Regions from separate parts of the Homo sapiens genome. Here regions 2 and 3 are each linked to region 1. The links are contacts of gene promoters, found by promoter capture Hi-C in human tissues and cell types (Jung and others, 2019). All regions are on one chromosome and are shown on one strand. The core of a region is centred on a gene start or on the middle of the fragment in contact, and the rest is flanking DNA. Distances in the headings are between cores, read along the strand shown. Region 1 holds the start of PDZD9 (PDZ domain containing 9). Region 2 overlaps MOSMO (modulator of smoothened). Region 3 overlaps UQCRC2 (ubiquinol-cytochrome c reductase core protein 2).

Region 1 (3,283 bases), core at 601-3,100:
ACCCGAAGGTACTGACAAAGATGATCCTACTGCTGTTGAAAGTGAGATCTTCAATGCTTCCTCCCTGGAAAAGGGTGAGCTCAGAAAAGAGTGAGCTGCTGTGTTTGGGGACAACCAGGTGGAGGAGGCAGCACTATGGTCCTCGGAGAGCCAGACCCCAAGCACCAGACTAAAATATGAAAGACTTACAGGTTTTGCTACAAGGCTAGTCAGACAGCAATGTCAACCTTCCCAAGGACAAGCAGTCCAAATGACAACAGCCCTGCAGTGAAAAAGCCTAAGGCTGTCTGGCACCTGCCTGCCTAGTTCAGCCTCTTTGCCAACCTCAAGTCTTATCAAATCCTGATGCTGTGCGGAAAAAAGCCATAAAGAACAAGAATTGCTCAGTGCAGGAGTCTGCATCCTTCAGTAAGCCCACCTGGGGGCTAGCAGAAGTATAAAGTGATTAGAGCCTGGGCAACATAGTGACACCTCATCTCTTCTATTTAGGCTGGGCATGGTGGCTCACACCTGTAATCCCAGCACTTTGGGAGGCCGAGGGTGGGCGGATCACTTGGGGTCAGGAGTTCGAGACCAGCCTGGCCAGCATGGTGAAACACCGTTGCTACTGAAAACACAAAAATCAGCCAGGCGTGGTGGTTCACGCCTGTAATCCAAGCTACTCTGGAGGCTGAGGGGCAAGAATCGCTTGAACCCGCCTGGAAGGCGGGGGTTGCAGTAAGCCAAGATCATGCCGCTGCACTCTAGCCTGGGTCACAGAGCAAGACTCTGTCTCAAAAAAAAAAAAAAAATTAGCTGAATGTGGTGGTGCATGCCTACAGTCCCAGCTATGGGAGGCTGATGCAGGAGGATTGCTTGAGCCCAAGAATTGGAGGCTGCAGTGAGCCAGGAGCATACCACTGCACTCCAGCCTGAGCGACAGAACAAGACTCTGTCTCTAAAAATAAAATACAGTGACCCATATGCTATTTTAAGATTTATGTGCCCTTTTAATAAAAATGAAAGGGCCAAAGTCCCTATTTACATTGGTATAATTTTTTAAAGGCTCCTTACTATGTGATTTCATTTTTATGATGTTCTCCATGGAAAAGGCAAAAAAAAAAAAACGCTGTAAAAAACAGATGGGGGTGTGAGGAGCTGCAGTGGGGTGGGGTTTGGCTGCAACTGGGCATTGCAAAGTAATTTTAGGGAGTGGTGGAACTGTTCCCTATCTTGATGGAGGGGGTGGTTCAACGTGGGTATAGCTTGTCAAAACGGTAGCTGTACTTTTAAAAGGGGGGATCTTACTGCATGGAAATTATACCTTGATAAAAATAACGATGGCCAAGGCGGGCGGATCACTTGAGGTCAGGAGTTTGAGACCAGCCTGGCCAACATGGTGAAATCCCATCTCTACTAAAAATAAAAAATTAGCTGGGCATGGTGGCAGGCACCTGTAATCCCAGCTACTCGGGAGGCTAAGGCAGAGGAATCACTTGAGCCTGGGAGGCAGAGGTTGCAGTGAGCTGAGATCGCGCCACTGCACTCCAGCCTGGGGGACAAAGCAAGACTCCTTCTCAAATGATGATGATGATGATGATGATGATGATGATGATGATGATGATGATGATAATGATGATGATGATAACAACAACGATGGAGAGAGGTTATCTCCCAGGCCAAGAGTGCACCGTTGCCATTTTACAGAGGAGGAACATTGACGAAGGCTTGGTCCCCAGGGCTTCTTCACCCGCTTCCTTCTCCCCAGTTACCTTTTTTGTTTTTGTGGGAGGCCTTCTGCATGGTCCCGGGAGGTCAGGCAGCCCGGGAGGGCCTCCCGGAGCAGAGGCTGGAGTCAGTCCCAATGCCAACAGTTTCGAACCTTGCCCGCGGGCACTGCCCTCGGGATGGCCGCCAGGGGGCGCTGCGCCGCCACTGCCCAGAAATTGGGCGGCAGTGAGGTCGCCGCAAGGCTTCCCGTGGACCCTGCAAAACGTGGCGTGGGCATTGCACACCATTGTACTGTATGGAAACTTCTGCAGAGGTTAGCACCGTGCCTGACCCACGGTGGTTTCTTCATTCCTTCTTTTCTTTTTCTTTTTTTAAGAGACGGGCAGGGGGTGGGGGTCTCACTATGTTGCTCAGGCTCAACACAACTGTTGCACTATGGGCTCAAGCGATCTGCCCGCCTCAGCCTCCCAAAGTGCTGGGATTACAGGCATGAGCCACCGCGCTTGGCTTCTTCATTCATTCTTGGTGAACCTAAGAAATAGGGAGGGGGAGAAGGCACAGAGGAGGGTGTCTCAAAGATGTGAGGTGGTCTGCAGAGGAAGATCACAGCCAGAAGATCACAGGAGATCACAGAATACCTAGAAGATCAGAGAATCCCCCGCTGCACTTCTAATAATGGTATTTTAAAAAAATTGTTACATCAGTAGCTCCAATGCTTTGGAACTGCACTTTTTTTCATGAATGTTTTGAATAAGAAAAGGCCCCAGGGTGGCCTAAAAAAAAATGAGTCACTATTAGGAGAGGCACTATTAATGCTTCCTTCTTTTTTCCAAGATAATTCTTCCTCCCACACACATTCACTCATACAACAAGTATTTACAGGGAGCTGTTCTGTCATTTACTGATACTGGGGACACAACAGTAAGCAAGACAAACACAGAAACACAGGCTCTATCCTCTTGAAACCTGTACTTAAAAAACAGATGAAGTGGACAATTTTAGGAAAATATAAATTATTAAAAATAAATTCTAGGCCAGGTGTGGTGTCTAACACCTGTAATCCTAGGTACTCAGGAGACTGAGGCAGGAGGACTGCTTGAGCCCAGGAGTTTGAGATCAGCCTGGGCAACATAGTGAGACCCTTTCTCTATAAAAAAAATTTAAAAATTAGCTGGGCATGGTGGTGCACATCTGTAGTCCTAGCTACTCAGGAGGCTGAGATGGGAGGATCACTTGAGCCCAGGATTCAAGGCTGCAGTGAGCTATGATTGAGTCACCACCTTCCAGCCTGGGTGATGGAGCAAGATCCTGTCTCAAAAAATAAAAATGAATAAATGAGTTAGTAAATTCTAGAAGAAAGAGAAAACCTAATGAGGTAGGCCCTGGTGTTATCCCCGGTCTGATGAAACTGAGAGGCTAAGCACCTTGCCCCATCCCTTCAACAAACAGTCATTAACCACCTATTAGGTGTCAGGCACTGTGCAAAGATTTCCATGGTAGATCTGGTTATGTCCAAGCTTATTCTGTTGTTTCTGTGGCTCTACACAGACAATAAGCCAGGGCAGATTCCTCT
Region 2 (3,236 bases), core at 610-3,109, 37 kb after region 1:
TATTCCCCCACCCCCACTTGGCCTCCCAAAGCACTGGAATTACAGGTGTAATTCTATACCCAGCCACAAATTTAGTGTTTAACAAACTGCCAAATTGTTTTCTGAAGGGCCTTTTACACTGTGTTAAGAATTTGGACCCCATTGTAAGGGCAGTAGGAGGCTATTTTAATATGAATCCTGAATTTAATATTTTGAATTTGAAGAGGTTGTCAAACCAGAGAATCTGCCTAGTGGGCAGGTGAAACTCATAAGTCAGACTAGGATTGGAGATACAGAATGAAAAGTCATCAGCCTATGACTGATTTTGGAAGCTATTGTAGGAATATTTTCCAGGGAGAGTAAGAAGAGTAAGGAGAAACAAGAGAACCCAGGAAAGAACCCTGAAGGTCACCAGCATTTTAAGGATGCTGAGAAAAAGCTAGACTCAAGAGGAAAACCAGCCAGGCATGTTGGCTCGTGCCTATAGTCCTAGCTACTGGAAAGGCTGAGGTGGGAGGATCACTTGAACCCAGGTGTTCAAGGTTGCAGTGAGCTATGGACTACACCACTGCACTCCAGTCTGGGTGACAGAATGAGACTTGGTCTCTAAAAAGGAAAACGAAACAAAAATTTGATACTATAGAAGCCACGGGAAAATGTATTTGCAAGAAGAAAGAAGTGGTTGGCAGTCTTGGCCAAAAAGGAATTAAGGTATGAAATCAGTTTCTCCAACTATGCTCTCACAACACGGAAAACTTCTGTGACCAAGTGTGTGTTTTTCCTGCACTCACCAAGCAATTCTACGGCAAGTATCAGCTGGGTGTCCTGTAATTCAACTCAGTTCTGTTGCCATCTACCTGGCATATAGATCCCATAGATTGAGGGGTCAAACCTACAAGCTGCCCCCAATCCTAAGCCAGTTGCAAGCCTCGGGTTGTTTTTACCTGTGCTTCTGATCAACTGGTTAGAAATCAACTTTCCCATCACCTCCTCCTCAGTTTCAACTACTTTGCTGGGACAGCTCACAGAACTCAGGGAAATACTTACTTACCTTTACTGGTTTATTATGAAGGATACTACAAAGAATACAGATGAAGAGATGAATAGGGCAAGGCATGTGGGAAGGGGCGGGAAGCTTCCGTGCCCTCTCCTGGCATACCACCCTCCAGGAAGCTCCATGTGTTTAGCTACCCAGAAGCTCTTTGAGCCCAATCCTTTTGGGGTCTTGTGGAAGCTTCATTACATAGGCATGATTGATTAAATCCTTGGCCATTGACGAGCAATTCAACCTTTAGCCCCTCTCCCTTACCTGGATGTTGGCAAGGTGGGACTGAAAGTCCCAGTCTTCTAATCATGCCTTGATCTTTCCCATGACCAGCCCCCATCCTGAAGCTACATAGGGGCTGCCAGCCACCAGCCATCTCATTAGCTACAAAAGAAACTCTCATCACTCTGGAAATCCCAGGGATCTCAGGGGCTGTGTTGGGAAGCCTGATGAAAATCAAATATTTATTTCACAGTATAACAAGATGAAATTGAAAAGTACATTAGTCTTAAAGAGATTGTTAATAGCCTTGGAGAGAGACGTTTCAGAGAAGTGGTAAAGTAGGAGCCTCATTCACAGTGGGTTGCAAAATAACTAGTAGGGAGAGTAAGACAACAGTGAAGATGGAATTTTGCCTGTGCAAGGGATAGTGAGGTTAGTCAACATCCATCGTAATGAGAAGGAGCCAGCAGAGAGGGAGGGATTGATAATGCACCAAAGTTGATAGATCAAGGACCCTAATAGTACCAGAGTGGTAAAGCATAACAGAGGGATAGATTTTAGGAGACAAGAAACACTTTGTGACATGAGGAAAGGAAGTGAGGACCAATGAAGATGAAGTTAGGTTACAGATAATGGTGGTAGGAAATTGAGGGAGTCCACCTCTGTGACTTATAGAGATAACAAGAAGGGTCACTTGCTAGGAGTGAAATGGGAGTGATAATACTGGTAGGAAGTTTGAAAAGAGTATATATTTTAAAAATGGTTGAAAAGCTACTGTACAGAATAAGAGAGAGCCAGCTAAAAAAACAGATTTCTGGGTTGTATTGAGGGGCTAGTTGGGTCCATAAAGCATAAATTTTTTAATGATGCCAATCTTACAGTTATGTACTTTTATCCAGCAGAGTTTAGTAGTCTGGGTAGAGATGTGGGAAAGGAGACCATTGTGTTCATCCAAAACTGACATGGGAGAAAGCAATGACATGGGAGAAAGCAATGAATGAACTAAGCATAGTGCTCTGTAATAGACATTGAAGTCAGGTCTCAGGTCTAATCTTGACTGCTTAGTGAGTTAGGCAGATTACTTAACCTTCTCTCAGCTTCAGTTTCCTAATAATCATACTGAATCATATCAGTTTTCTAATCATAATCATCTATTCAGGCAGATTATTCAACCTTCTCTAAGCTTCAGTTTCCTAACAATAATCATACTGAATCATATCAGTTTTCTAATGATAATAATCTGTTCTCAGTGATGGGAATTAAATGGACAAGTGAACTCCTTAACGCATAGTTTGGGATACATGATACATGTCAATAAGTAGCAGTTTTTAACATTATTTGTGACCCAATTCTGTCACTTATAAGCTAGGTGACCTTAGGCAAGTTTCTTTCCTTTTTATCTATAAAAAGGAAATTATAATACTTGTTAGGGATTTTCAGCTGGGTATATTTTGAGGAAAAGATGTCAAGCTCTACGCCTGATACAGCCTTTAACAACTCAGTAAATGCTAGTTGAAGCAGAATCTGTAAGGAATTTTTTAGAAAATTAGGTTGGAAAGTTAGGTTTGGAATTTTGGCCTTTGTCTTATCATTAGTAGGGTATCTTTAAAAGTTCATGAGCAGGCTGGGCATGGTGGCTCATACATGTCCTAGCACTTTGGGGGGCCAAGGTGGGAGGATTGCTTGAGGCCAGGAGTTCGAGACCAGCCTGGCCAACATAATGAGTCCTTGTCTCTTACAAAAAAAGAATTCATGAGCCAGGAGATAACATAAAAGTGGTATTTTAGAAATATGCATTTATAAGTAGTGTGGTAGGATCTATGTCTCAGCTGGATATCTCCTTTTCAGACAGGCCTTCCCTAACCACCCTGAATCTAAGATAGCAGCACTCCCTCCTCCTATCTAATGCCTTACCCTGTATGATTTTTCTTATGGCATTTATGACTGCAATTACCTTGCTTATTAATATGTTCACTTTTTTACTGGCTCC
Region 3 (3,416 bases), core at 387-2,886, 42 kb before region 1:
ATGCCTTACTCTCCTTGGTAATACGAAGACATTCATTATATCTCTACTTTATTTTAAATACAGTTTACCAAGTTACCAAATGGCTTGGTGATTGCTTCTTTGGAAAACTATTCTCCTGTATCAAGAATTGGTTTGTTCATTAAAGCAGGCAGTAGATATGAGGACTTCAGCAATTTAGGAACCACCCATTTGCTGCGTCTTACATCCAGTCTGGTGAGTATCTTCACTTCCTCAAGTGTTTGGAAATGCTGTGGTATCTTGGTCCTGTGAAAAAGAAAAACTAAGATCAATGTCTTTATATTTTGATTCCTTGACCTGCCATAACAAATTACCACGGACTGGGTAGCTTAAACCAAATAAGTTTATCCTGTTACAGTTCTAGAGGCTAGAAGTCCAAGTCAAGGTGTCTAAGCCAAGCCAAGATATCAGCAGGGCTGTGATCCCTCTAAAGGTTCTAGGAAGGCACAAATCCTCCCCTGCCTGTTCCTAGCTTCCAGCAGTTGCCCACAACCCTTCATGTTCCTTGACCTGCAACTGCATCACTGCAGTCTCTGCCTTTGTTGTCACATGGCCTTCCTTCTGTCTGTGTCCACATTTCCTCCTGATAAGGATACCAGTTACATTAGATTTAGTGCCCACTATAATTCAATATGATGTCATCTTAAGTACTTAAATCTGCAGAGACCTTATTACCAAATAAAGTAACATGCAAATATTCTGGCTGGACATAAATTTGGGGGGGAACACTGTTAAACCCAGTACTGTCCCCTAATGTAAAATGAGAAACCACAAGATATTTGCCACAGAGAAGCACTAAATTAGTATCCATATGAATGTTGATGTTAGAGCATAAGAAATCAGTAAACAAATTTTTAACAGGAAGTGCCGCAAATTGAAAGAAAATTAACTCTTTTTTTCCCATATACAAGTCTCTTTCAGAATAGACTAATGAATCCAGTAAGCTTGTATTTGACAGTGGAAATTTTACATGAATGTACTTAATGTAAAAATGTATACTTAAGCTTTTTGTTGAGCCTTGTTTTATAATTCTTAACTAAAAAGGATGCAGGAATTTAGTAAAATTCTTTTTAAATCTGCTCACAACAGATTTTGATATAGTGTGATGTTTGGCAAACTTGGCATTGAAAAGCTACAAAGATAATCATTCTTTCTTTTTCAAGACGACAAAAGGAGCTTCATCTTTCAAGATAACCCGTGGAATTGAAGCAGTTGGTGGCAAATTAAGGTTTGTTAAATAAGTAATAGAAAATAGTGAAAATGCCAGAAAATATTCAATTTTAAGGGAACTTTTCTCTGTTATCAAGGAGGTTGAGGATTTCTTAAGCAACATAAGAAGGAAAAGACTGATGAATTTGAGTATATCAAACTGTAAAACATCTTTATGTCTTAAAGTAAAAATTTAAGTAACTGTCTGGGAGTAGATATCTGCAATATATAGGCATACCTCAGAGATGTTGCAGGTTCTGTTCCAGACCACCACAATGAAGGGAATATTGCAGCAAAGCAAGTCATAGGAATTTTGTGGTTTCCCAGTGCATATAAAAGTTATGTTTACACTATACTGTGGTCTACTAAGTGTACAATGACATTTTGTCTTGGAAAAAAAGTACATAACCTTAATTTTAAAATATTTTATTGCTTTAAAAATGTTAACAGTTATCTGAATCTTCAGCAAGTCATAATCTTTGCTGGTGGAGGGTCTTGCCTCCACGTTAATGGCTGATGACTGATCAAGGTGGTGGTTGCTGAAGGTGGTGGTGACTGATAATTTCTTAAAATCAGACAACAGTGAAGTTTGCTGCATTGATTGACTCTTCCTTTTGTGAAAGACTTCTCTGTAGCATGAGATGTTGTTTTTAGCCGTTTACCCACAGAACTTCTTTCAAAATTAGTCAGTCATCTCAAACCTTACCACTTTTTTATCAACCAAGATTATGTAATATTCTTTTTTATCATTTCGACAGTGTTCACAGCATCTTCAACCAGGAGCAGATTCTATCTCAAGAAACCACTTTGTTTGCTCATCCATAAGAAGCATCTCCTCATCTGTTCAAGCTTTATCATAAGATTGCAGCCATTCAGTCACATCTTCAGGCCCCACTTCTAGTTCTCTTGCTACTCCCACCATAGTTGCAGTTTCTTCCCCCTCTGAAGTCTTGCCTCTCAGAGTCATCCATAAGGGTTGGAATTGGCTTCTTCCAAACTCACGTTAATGTTGATACTTTGACATCCTCCCATGAGTCACAAATGTTCTTAATGGTGTCTAGAATGGTGAATTCTTTCCAGAAAGTTTTTTAATTTACTTTGCCCAGATCCATCAGCGTCTTCACTATCTGTGGTAGCTGTAGCCTTACAAAATGTATTTCTTAAATAATAAGACTTGAAAATAAAAATTACTCCTTGATCCATGGGGTGCAGAAGGGATGTTCTATTAGCAGGCATGAAAACAGTGTCAATCTCCTTGTACATCTGCATCAGAGCTCTTGGCATTGTTGCAGTAATAATTTGAAAGGAATCTTTTTTCTGAGCAATGGGCTTAAAATATTCAGTCAACCATGCTATAAACAGATGTACTATCATCCAGGCTTTTTTGTTCATTTACAGAGCATAGGCAGAGTAGATTTAGCATAATTCCTAAGGGCTCTAGGATTTTGAGAATGGTAAATGACCTCATCCTAAAGTCACCAGCTGCATTAGTCCCCAACAAGAGTCAGCTTGTCGTTTGAAGCTTTGACGCCAGGCATTGACTTCTCTAGCTACGAATGTCCTGGACGGCATCTTCCAATGTAAGGCTGTTTTGTCAGCATTGAAAATCTGTGGTTTAGTGTAGCCACCTTCATCGATGATCTTATGTAGATCTTCTGGATAACGTGCTGCAGCTTCTATATTAGCATTTGCTGCTTCACTGTGTACTATTATATTAAGAAGATGGCTTCTTTCCTTAAAGCTCATGAACTAACCACGGCTAGCTTCAGACTTTTCTTCTGCATCTCACCTCTCTCAGCCTTCATATAATTGAAGAGAGTTAGGGCATTGCTCTGGATTAAGCTTTGACTTAAGGGAATACAGTTTGATCTAATCCAGACCAGTAAAACTCTGTATTATCAGCAATAAGTCTGTCTTGCTTTCATATCATTTATGTGTTCAGTGGAGTAGCACTATTAGTTTTCTTCAAGAACTGCACTGGTGCAAGAGGCCTAGCTTTTGACCTGTATCCGTTTTTAACATGCCTTCCTGACTTCCTTAGAAGCTTAATCCTTTCTAGCTTCTGATTTAAAGTGAGAGACATGAGACTCTTCCTTTCACTTGTATACTTAGGGGCCATTGTCGGGTTATTCATTAGCTTAATTTCAATATTGTTGTGTCTCAGGAGTAGGAATATCCAAAGAGAGGGA

The links. The method cuts DNA at HindIII sites, captures the fragments that hold promoters and counts their contacts. A contact is called where the count stands out against the background at its distance.
Region 2: a fragment that was not itself captured here is called in contact with the fragment with the promoter of PDZD9 in region 1 in 3 of the 25 tissues and cell types used here (lymphoblastoid cells, mesendoderm cells and small bowel).
Region 3: a fragment that was not itself captured here is called in contact with the fragment with the promoter of PDZD9 in region 1 in 3 of the 25 tissues and cell types used here (dorsolateral prefrontal cortex, lymphoblastoid cells and stomach).

The regions. Positions count from the first base shown.
Region 1 is chr16:21,999,266-22,002,548 of GRCh38, forward strand. PDZD9 (PDZ domain containing 9) reads right to left here and starts at 1,851. Exons shown (of 4, transcript NM_001363519.1): 1 at 1,752-1,851. The coding sequence starts at 1,782. It also overlaps the pseudogene LOC100420536. RefSeq lists an enhancer at 1,997-2,046. The HindIII fragment of the contact is 5,621 bases long and covers 917-3,283 here.
Region 2 is chr16:22,036,685-22,039,920 of GRCh38, forward strand. The region is part of intron 1 of MOSMO (modulator of smoothened); the gene reads left to right. Among named protein-coding and RNA genes, the nearest start is that of MOSMO, 30 kb to the left of the region's middle. The HindIII fragment of the contact is 3,291 bases long and covers 215-3,236 here.
Region 3 is chr16:21,957,354-21,960,769 of GRCh38, forward strand. It overlaps UQCRC2 (ubiquinol-cytochrome c reductase core protein 2), which reads left to right. Exons shown (of 14, transcript NM_003366.4): 3 at 64-213; 4 at 1,182-1,246. It also overlaps a transcript of PDZD9 not described here. Among named protein-coding and RNA genes, the nearest start is that of UQCRC2, 5.7 kb to the left of the region's middle. The HindIII fragment of the contact is 3,067 bases long and covers 104-3,170 here.